2 separate regions of the Homo sapiens genome follow, and region 1 is linked to region 2. Evidence: promoter capture Hi-C in 16 types of primary human blood cells and fetal thymus (Javierre and others, 2016). All regions are on one chromosome and are shown on one strand. Each heading gives the region's core, a stretch centred on a gene start or on the middle of the fragment in contact. The rest is flanking DNA. Distances are from core to core; before and after follow the strand shown.

Region 1 (5,035 bases), core at 109-2,608, 54 kb before region 2:
ACTCTAGAACCGTATTACCTATATTCAAAATCCCAGCTCTGTTATTTATTAGTTGTATGGCTTTGAGTAAATTATTTATCCTTCTATGCCTCACTTTCAAGTTAGGCATAAATAGTACTTATAGGGTTGTTGTGAGTATTAAATGAGATATTCATGTAAAGAACTGGCCGGGAGCAGTGGCTCACACCTATAATCATAGCACTTTGGGAGGCCAAGGCAGTAGGATTGCTTGAGCCCAGCAGTTCAAGACCAGCCTGGGCAACATGGCAAAACCGTCTCTACTAAAAATAGAAAAATTAGCTTGGTGTAGTGGTGCGCACCTGTATTCCCAGCTACTTGGGAGGTTGAGATGGGAGAATCACCTGAGCCCAGGAGGCAGAGGTTGTTGTAGTGAGCCAAAATGATGCCACTGCACTCCAGCCTGGGTATCAGAGTGAGACCCTGTCTCAAAACAAAATAAAATGAAATAAAAAAATTGCTAGTTGGAAAGTAAATTGATGAACAGTTTGGCAAACAATTAAAGTTTAACATTTATGTACCCTAAAATGCAAAAATTCCACTCCTAGATATATATCCAAAAGAAATTCTTGCACATATACAATAAGAGACATGGACCATGATGCTCATGACAGGATCATTCACAATAATAAAAACCTAGGAAAAAATCTTCAAAATGCCCATCAACAAGAGACTGAATAAACTAAATCCATAACCACAGTGGAATATTACACAGCTGTTTAAATGAACGAACTGTGGTGACATGCAACAACATGCATGAATCTTAACAAATACCACTAAGTGCAAAAATTATTGTGTGCCACATGATATTTTTTATTAAATTAAAAACATTTAAATATGCATATTTAGGAATGCTTATAAATACAATAACACTATATAAAAAGGAAAGCAAGGGAGTGGGGATTCAGGTTGATGGCTGCCTGGCATGGGAGGAGTTAGGGCATGGTACGGGTAGGGGCCTAATGTGGTAGGTTTATGGGTGCTTTTAATACTTTAAACAAATGGTTAGCTAGCTAGCCAGGCAGCAAAGTAGACAGCTCTGACTGCTATGTGAAGAATGGATCAAAGGAGTAGAAGCTGGAGCAGGATGACCAGTTAGGAAGATGTTTAGTATCCAGATGAAGGAGGGTGAGGCATTGTTCTCGAATGGTGGCCATTGAGATGGAGAGTATTGAACAGAATCAGAATCTATTCTGGAGGTAATGGAGAACTTGCTCTGATGACTTAGATGTGGGAGGCAAGGAATATTCTATTGTACAAATATTCCATAATTAAACTCTGCTCTTATGGTATATCTAAGTTGTTTACAATATTTTTTGCTCCAATAAAGGTCTAAAATGAACATCCTTGTACCTTAATCTTCATACAAATTCAATTAATGTCTTTCTTTTTTATGGTGTGTGATGTGATCCAATTTTATTATATTTAAGATTGTATTTTTTTTTTAGAGCAGTGTTAGGCACACAGCCAAATTGAAAGGAAGGTACAGAGATTTCCCTTATGGCCTCTGCCGTCATACATGTTCAGGCTCCCAATTACAATATCCCCCACCAGAGCGGTACATACATTACAACAGATAAACCTACATTGATACACCACTATCATCCAAAGTCTATACCTTACATTAGGGTTCACTCTTGGTGGTGTACATTCTATGGGTTTGGACATACATTCATTATAGTATCATATAGTATTTTCACTGCCCTGAAAATCCTCTGTGCTCCATCTATTCATCCTTCCCTCGCCCCATACTCTGGCAACTACTGATCCTTTTACTCTCTCCATAGTTTTGCCTTTTCCAGAATGTGATACAGTTTGGAATCATATAATACGTAACTTTTTCAATTGGCTTCTTTCACTTAGCAATATGGATTTAAGGTTCCTGCACGTCTTTTCATGGCTTGATAGCTTTTTTCTTTTTAGCAATGAATATTTCATTTACTGGGTATACCACAGTTTATTCATTCCTCTAATGAAGGCCAACTCAGTTGCTTTCAAGTTTTGGTAATTATAAAAGATGCTATAAACATCCATGTGCACGTCTTTGTATGGACATAAGTTTTCAACTCCTTTTGGTAAACACCAGAGAGTTCAAATGTTGGATTATATAGTAAGATGTATGTTTAGTTTTGTAAGAAGCTGTCAAACTATCTTCCAAAGTGGCTGTGCCCTTTTGCATTCCCACCAGCAATGAACCAGAGTTCCTGTTGCTCCACATCCTCACCAGCATTTGGTGTTGTCATGTTCTGGACTTTGGCCATTCTAATAGATATGTATCTTGAATTAATTTTTAAAAATCAACCTGCAGAAATAAAATTGCTATACCAAAGGATATGTGCATTAAATAAGGCTTTTGATACATATTACCAAGTTAGCTTCCTGAAGTGAAAGATTGTACCATTTTAGCTCCCACTAGCTTGGACAACATGACGAAATTTCATCTCTACAAAACATACAAAAATTCTCTGAGTGTGGTTGCCCGCGCCTAGTAGTCCCAGCTACTCCAGCGGCTGAGGCAGGAGAATCACTCGAGCTGGGGAAGTGGAGGTTGCAGTGAGCCAAGATCGCGCCGCTGCACTTCAGCCTGGACGACAGAAGGAGACACTGTCTTAAAGAAAAAAAAAAGAACAAGAAGAACTTACAGTACTGCCTGGAACATACTAAGCATACAACAAATATTAGCTATTTGAATAACTTTTGTACGTTAAGCTTTTTCCATTGGGGGGATCTAAACTTTTGCAATATTAATAGTTGAATATAAAGGCAATACTACTGATATTTTGGGATACATAAAATAATGTATAATGTAGAGATAGGAATGGCAATATTTCGAACAATGAAATAGATTATTTTATAATCTTTGCTTTCTTTAATTAAAAAAATAGGAATTCACCTAAAAAAGATATATCTGCTATTCTAAAATCTACCACTGAGTGGCAGCATAACCAATTAATATGGCAATATAACTCGTAATTTTCAAACTCAAATTTACAAAAATCTCAAAATAGAAAAAGGGTTCCTAGAAAAGAAGTGTGGTTATAGCAGACACATTAAATCTATTGGCTGATGAATTATTTGAGGTAAATCTATCCCAATACCTTGCTAGGTGTTGGTTGGCCAGACATCTCTAAACTGATTTATCTTTTCTGTGACCCCATTTCCACTCTCCCTTAAAATGGTTTTTCTTCCGTCTTTTCCATCTCAATAAATGACATACGTACCATCTACCTAATTGCTTAAGCCAGAAACTAAAAGTCACTCTATTGTGGGGTACAGGGCTTTTTATTGTTGATTCATAGTTGTATTATATTATGGTAAAAAAAAAATGTGGTCTGTATAATATCAACTTTCTCAGTATTACTTGAGACTGGCTTCGTAGTCAAATTTTCAAGTTTTTCACATTTACTTAGAGAACATGTACTTAGAAAACATGTACTCTCCACTACGTGAAGGATTCTGGCTGTATCCATTAAATCAAGCTTGTGAACCATGTTTTTCAGATCTTCTGTATCCTTATTAATATTATGTCAGCTTCTTCTGTTTCTGTAGGAAATATGGTAAAGAAAAATTTGCCACTGTAATTGTGGATTTGTTAATTTCTTGCAATTCTGTCAATGACATTTTTGCTTTACATGTACTGAAGAGGTATTGTAAATTACATATAGAGTCAGAATTGCTACATCTTTTTGGTACCAACATGGAGAAACCCCGTCTCTACTAAAAATACAAAGTTAGCCAGGCGTAGTGGCGCATGCCTGTAATCCCAGCTATGCGGAAGGCTGAAGCAGGAGAATCGCTTGAACCTGGGAGGTGGAGGTTGCGGTGAGCCGAGAATGCACCACTGCACTCCAGCCTGGGCAAAAAGAGCAAAGCTCCGTCTCAAAAAAAAAAAAATTCCTTTATCGTTTACTTAAAAAAATCTTAGGCCGGCCGGGCGCGGTGGCTCACGCCTGTAATTCCAGTATTTTGGGAGGCCGAGGCGGGTGGATCACCAGAAATCAGGAGTTCGAGACCAGCCTGATCAACACGGAGAAACCCCATCTTTATTAAAAATACAAAATTAGACAGGCGTGGTGGCGCATGACTGTAATCCCAGCTACTCGGGAGGCTGAGGCAGGAGGATGGCGTGAACCCGGGAGACGGAGCTTGCAGTGAGCTGAGATCGCGCCACTGCACTCCAGCCTGGGCGACAGAGCGAGACTCCGTCTCAGAAAAAAAAAAAAAAAAAAGGAAACAAAAATCCTTCAGTGGCTTCGTATGAGAAAGAATAATATCCAAACATTTTACCACAACACTTAGAATGACTTGGCCCATGCCTGCTTCGCCAATCTCCTCTCATAAACTTAAATACTTATGTTTAACTTTATAGGAAATTACCAAACTGTTCCCTGAAATGGTTGTACGATTTTGCATTCCCACCAGCAATGTATGAAAGTTCCAGTTATTCTGCAACCTCACTAGCACCTGACATTGTCTTTTTATTTAATTTAAACTATTTGAGCAGGCATGAGGTGGTGTCTCATTGTCGTTTTAATTTGTAAATGACTAATGAAGTTGAGAATCTTTTCGTGTACTAATTTGCCATCTGTATATCTTTTTTATAAAGTATCTGTTCAAATCTTTTGCCCTTTTCTTTACTGGGTTGTTAGCTTTCTTATTATTGAGGTTAGAGAGTCTTTTATATATTCAGGTTACAAATATTTTATTAGACATATGTTTTGCAAATGTTTCTTCCCAGTATGTGGCTTGTCTTCTCATTTTCTCTATCTTTCAAAGAGCAGAACTTTTTTGTTTCGTAAAATCCAGTTTATTAATTTTTCCTTTTCTACCCAGCCTTTTAATCCCATTTCTTCCCATCCTATTCTATCAGTCTTCTTTCTCTGTCTTCAGTCATGTATAATTCTCCCACTTTTTGCAAAAATCTTCACCTTTCCTCATTATCACTGTTCTTTTTCCCCTTTATTTCCCTGCCAAATATTTGAAATGAATGTCTACAAAAGCCTCCAATTCTTTACTA
Region 2 (5,292 bases), core at 894-3,393:
GTTTGTTTCACTGAAGTCAGTGAGATAGGAGTCTAGCTGGGTACATGCTTAAAAAGCTGGAAGTGAAGTGGGTGGCAAGTGGCAGCTCCCTCTTTCATGTAGTTTTCCATAATGTTCATATAGTTTCCTTATGGTCTAAGTGTTACAACTGGTTTTCAAGTTGTTATATTGAATATTCCTTTTTGGAATTCAGGGTTGAATCACTTTGAGGGGGAAGGGAAGCAAGGGCAAGAGACTTTATTTTAACCAGATGCGGTCTTATGACCTCAAAGATGTGCTCTAGAAAGAAAATAACAAAAAGTGTACCTGTGAACATATTTTTTGTCTTGGTGATATTATGCAACACAGTGTTCAGAATTGCAAAAAAATTTAAAAATTGATAGTTTTATCAATGGAACAGAGAGATGTGTTTTTGGCTAAAATTATTTTTTGTAAGTTATTTGGTTATTTCATTTTATATTCCCTTTCCCATAGCTTTGTACACACCTCATACTTAAAACCAAGTGAGAGGCCTCTTTTCAGATCTGGTTTATTTTTGGAATGCCTGAGTGTGTTTCCAGATTGGGGGGGGAGAGGTGGTGTTTTACTTTTTGACATGCTCTTAGCATGTTTTGCTAGTCATTCTGGATCTTATGTTTGCAAATTCTGTTGAACATTCAGTGATGTATTTGAAATGAGAAAGTCCTTTATAACATAGTGTGAATGTTTGTGGCCAATTCAATTGTGGAATCTTATGGCTTTGTTTTTACTTTGGGTAGAAGTTTAACTTCCATTGTTCAGATTTTAGGTTTATCTAGTGAAATTGTGCCAGGTAGTTGTCTAAATATGGACCAATTTTGGGAAATGAAGATTAATAAGTGTATATTTGATTCTAGATAATCCTTTACTCAAAATCATAAGTTAAAGATTCACATCATTAAGAGTTATCTAACTTTTATGTTGTCAAATCTTTAAATGTGGATGATATTCAGCATTCTATCTATGAATTTCCTTTAGGAAAAGAGAAAAATTCAGTCTCCAAACCTTTTCTTGGAGACAAAATTTACCACATATCGAAAATGAAAAAAATTTAGAAAGCGATTTGATTATTTTTTAATGGAGTTTAACCAGCTTAATTAATGATTTTTCCAGTTTGAAGCACTTATTTTCCCAATGTGAATAAAGGGAAAAGATCAGCAATTTGTCCCTGGCCTTTTTCGAGGCCATTTTTAGTTTTCTGCCCCCATTTCCCAGTCCTGGTATAAAATGAATTACGGGTATCCCTCTAAGTCCCTATAACCCTTTTTGGGGGTCACAGATATCTTTGATAATCTGATGACAGTGTGATGGATCCTCTACCCAAGAAAAAAAAAATGCCCATCCCTGGATAATTTTGCATACAACTTCAGGGGCATCACACATCTTCTGAAACCCAAGTTAAAGATCTCTGCTCTAAGTAAATTGTAGAGAATTTTAGTGCAAATCGTTGATAAAATTAGGAACCAACTATTGGCTTAAAACCTTTCATATTGGAATTATTGTTAGATGGTGGCCCCTACTAGCAAAATGTGACATTGCAACCAGCTTCGTTAGACATTATAACAACCAGAGAGAAGGGAAAAAAGCAAAGTTCTGAAAGCTATTTATAAGGAGTCAGGGCATCTCTAGACATGGGAGCCTTCCTGGTTCAAGGCAGGGGTCAGGGTGCCTGACAATTTCTAGCAGGGTAGAGTTTGATAAACCACAATGCTCAGGATGCCAAGGGGTTAGCCATTATCTTAACCCCTTCCTCACCAAAAGATTTTAGTTTTGTCTGTTGGGAAACAAGATGTCACTAGGGAAAAAAAGATTTGCCTTACAACTTTGCTGGAACACATCAGTTTGGTGACGTTGGGACACTAGTGTTATTTTTGAGAAGGCGCATAAAACCAAAGTAAATTATTCTCTATGTAGAACATTTATTTACTAGTAACATTTGTTTGCGTGTATTCGCTTTGACAATTTTTACCAGTAAATATTGGTTTTATTTAAAACTGGGAATCCAGTTGATATATAGGATAGTTGATACATCTGTTCTTTCCCCCATGTAAAGCATAGTTAAAAGATTTATGCATACTTTTTACTTTTCTCTCTTAATGCCATGGGGTGGGGAGGGTGGGTGGGGGAAAGATTTTTGAGTCTACAACTGACAAAATGTCTTCTTCAAATTAAAAAAAATTGAGAAGCAGCACTTTAAGTCTAACTCTACACCATTTTATTGCATGTATTAGTTTTATTAATGATTTTTGGTGCATGCCTTTGGGCTTATTCAAAAGTGTACAATAGGAAAGTATATTTCCTTTCTTAGAAAGGAGATGTTTTCTACTTTGCAACATGTGATTACAAAAATCTTCCTCTGTGGGAAGATTAACCATGTATTGAACTACTGAAAAGTATATATTTTTAGATATACAGAAGGAATCTACATGGAGCAGCATTCAGACCTATATAGAAGTCATAGCATTCTGTATAGGACCAAAAAGGAAATAACATTAAACACTTAAACAGACGTTGTTGGGTAGAAATACCTTTAGATCTTGCATTTACTTCCAAAAAGAAAAAATGCCACAGAAGTTTGCTGAAAACTTTTGTCGTTTGAATTTTCTCTGTCAGTGTATTTAGCCCAAATACAACAGCTTTGGGTTAGCACACACATAAGAATCAAAAAAACAAAGCTCACTAAATAAATCAGTCTGGTTTGCCAATCCAGCTTGACTGAAATAAGTAAACCAATCACTTGCAACATGAAAAACTGTCCAACTCCTCTAAGGTTCTGACAAAATAACCTTGGCTGATGTGGGAAGACTCCCACTTTGATTACTGACCTGACAGTGAAGATTCATGCTTGACATGATTTCAGACTTGACAATGTCTGTTTAAGGAGCTATGGTACAGTTTGCTAATTCAATCCCAGATACCTGTTGATTACCTGTGAGATCTAGAGTCCAAAGTAGCCAGCAGCCATATCCCTGAGTGCTCTGTGCCCATCAGATATCTTAAAGTAAGCAGGGTTGGGACAGGTCACAGCTTGGATGATTGACCTCAGGTGCCGTAGACAGCCCCAGATTCAAGAATTGTATCTGCTTTCTTGGCAGTCGTCACTGAACTAATGTCCCATACTGTGTTACTTACTGTAGATGCTCTCTTTTAGAGGAGGCCCAGAGCACACATCCTAATCGCTAGCGGTACTCAGAGAGGGGGTGCTAACTCTGATGCCCTGGCCAAATTCCAGTTTAGGGATGTGGGTCTTCTTCTTGTCATTCTAATTGGAAATGTGCATCACTTCCCATTTTTCTTACTGATCTCAGTGCAAACTACACTAGTCTGTTTCTTTGCCCTGGTCTCAAGTCTCTAAGACGCTGGTGTGTATTATGTGGGCTAAGTTCATGTGTTATCCTAAGGCACAAGAGTTGAGGAATGGGTGAGCTTGGTGTCAGAGCACTGTGTGGTTGGAGGGTGGACTCTTGTGATGCTGTGGGGATGAAATTGGCCCTCTTTTAGCATAAGTTGGGGAGTGTGCACTGGCTGGAGGCTTCCAGAGGCTTCCAGCCATGAGGTGTGAGCTGAAACCAATTTTTCCTCTTTCCTTATAGCATGTTGAGAAAATCTGTTGGGTTTTCAGCAGTCAGGGAAGGCCGGAGTTCTGCTTTAATCTGGGTAACTGAGGCTAATATGAGCAAGACTTTGGTTAATTAACTGGGTTCTCAGATGCCACAGACTCCGTGAGAAGTCACCATTATTTTCAATGGTTGTGATAGAATTTCCCCCAGTAGCCATTATTTTAAGATTATATTGCAGAGTTGCTTTATTTTGAGCTTTTTGTGTATACACAATCCCAAACTGGAAGAAATTTTAAAAAAAGGAATCCTGCTGTGAAAGGTATATATTACTCTAGATTTTTCTTACTGTAAATATTGTAAGATTGTAATACTGTCGATATTTTATTAACCAACAAATGTTAATCTATGTGAAATCAGACTTATTTTAAATGTGCTTCTTATTTACTGTGTGTGGTCCCTGTTGCTGACAGTATTAAGTTATATTCTGATGTAAGATTAACTTTATTAAAGAATGTAAACATTAATGTTTCCTTATGGGAAAACAAATAAAGTATAAAGAAGACAATTCTTTTCATTGAAATATACTGTGTATTTACACTTGCTAGACCCAGCACCACTTATAAATTTAGTACACTGTTCAGAATTTTAGTTAACACAGCTGACATGGTTGTGCTCTGTTTGAAAGTCTAAGAATAGGTATTGTTGGAATATACAGTTTGTATTTGTCTGCTGTGAATCATAATCTTGAAATTTCTAATCAAGTTTGTAAAATTTTTATAGTGAAACATTTTAATGACAATTTAAAAATTTATCTTCTCTAAAGAATGGTCAAAACAATATCCTTTCAGAAATAGAATTGTTCTTTAATATCTTTCCAAAATGACTTTGGTTAAATGGACCAGATGTATATTAGTTAAAATTTAGGACTAAGTTGTTGATATTCTTTGAGTTTACAAGTTAATCCTTATTGGAGATGTGCCAATATACAGTTAGAATATCATTAATTTGCACTGTTTGGGGACCCCATTTAAGAATGCTGAATTTTGCCAACTAAGAAGTAAGCAAATGCAATTTAAAAAGTAAATTTGAGCATTCTGTATTAAATATGTGCAGTTATTATCACATGAAGAAACGCAGTGTGTCGGGCTGTAATATTACCATATTTGCTGTCATGTTCTCCCATCTCAGTGCTGGGAAATCACCATGTGGAAACCAAGCAAACGTGTTGTGCATCAGCCGGCTTGAGTTTGTTCAATATCAAAGCTGAAAACTAGCGAGGTCTGCTGTACTGCTTATTGAAGTATTGTGATTATTTTAGGCATTGATTCTTACAAAATATATACTGTAACAGTATACTTTGTACAGATTTAAATTTTATTTGAAAAAATGAAATAAAGTAGGCAAAAAAATAAAGATGTTTATTTTTCATGTGACTGTATAATCAGATCAGTCTTTTGTTTCAGTGCTTTTTGGGGGAAGGGGTCTGGTTGCGATCTTGGATTTTTTTTTTTTTTGATAGGTGGAAACTTTTTAGGACTCAGTAGCAGGTATACTTATGCTTATGAATTGGCTGCAAGCATTAAGTGTGCTCTCATACTAGAGAACTCTATCTTCTATTTTATTTTAAGGTAGGTTTGCTTATTTTTAAAAATGTTATGTGAATGGCCTCCCTATCCTGGCATACTGGGTCATTTAAAAAATTCTCTGGTGGTAT

The links. The method cuts DNA at HindIII sites, captures the fragments that hold promoters and counts their contacts. A CHiCAGO score of 5 or more calls a contact.
Region 1: a contact is called between a fragment that was not itself captured here and the fragment with the promoter of IGIP in region 2, in 1 of 17 cell types (naive CD8 T cells). The highest score is 5.5, in naive CD8 T cells.

Annotation. Positions count from the first base shown.
Region 1 is chr5:140,070,452-140,075,486 of GRCh38, forward strand. No RefSeq gene overlaps it. Among named protein-coding and RNA genes, the nearest start is that of NRG2, 30 kb to the left of the region's middle. The HindIII fragment of the contact is 2,734 bases long and covers 1-2,725 here.
Region 2 is chr5:140,123,794-140,129,085 of GRCh38, forward strand. IGIP (IgA inducing protein) reads left to right here and starts at 2,144. Exons shown (of 1, transcript NM_001007189.2): 1 at 2,144-5,292. The coding sequence starts at 4,684. The coding sequence ends at 4,845. It overlaps PURA (purine rich element binding protein A), which reads left to right. Exons shown (of 1, transcript NM_005859.5): 1 at 1-1,826. The HindIII fragment of the contact is 9,298 bases long and covers 1-5,292 here.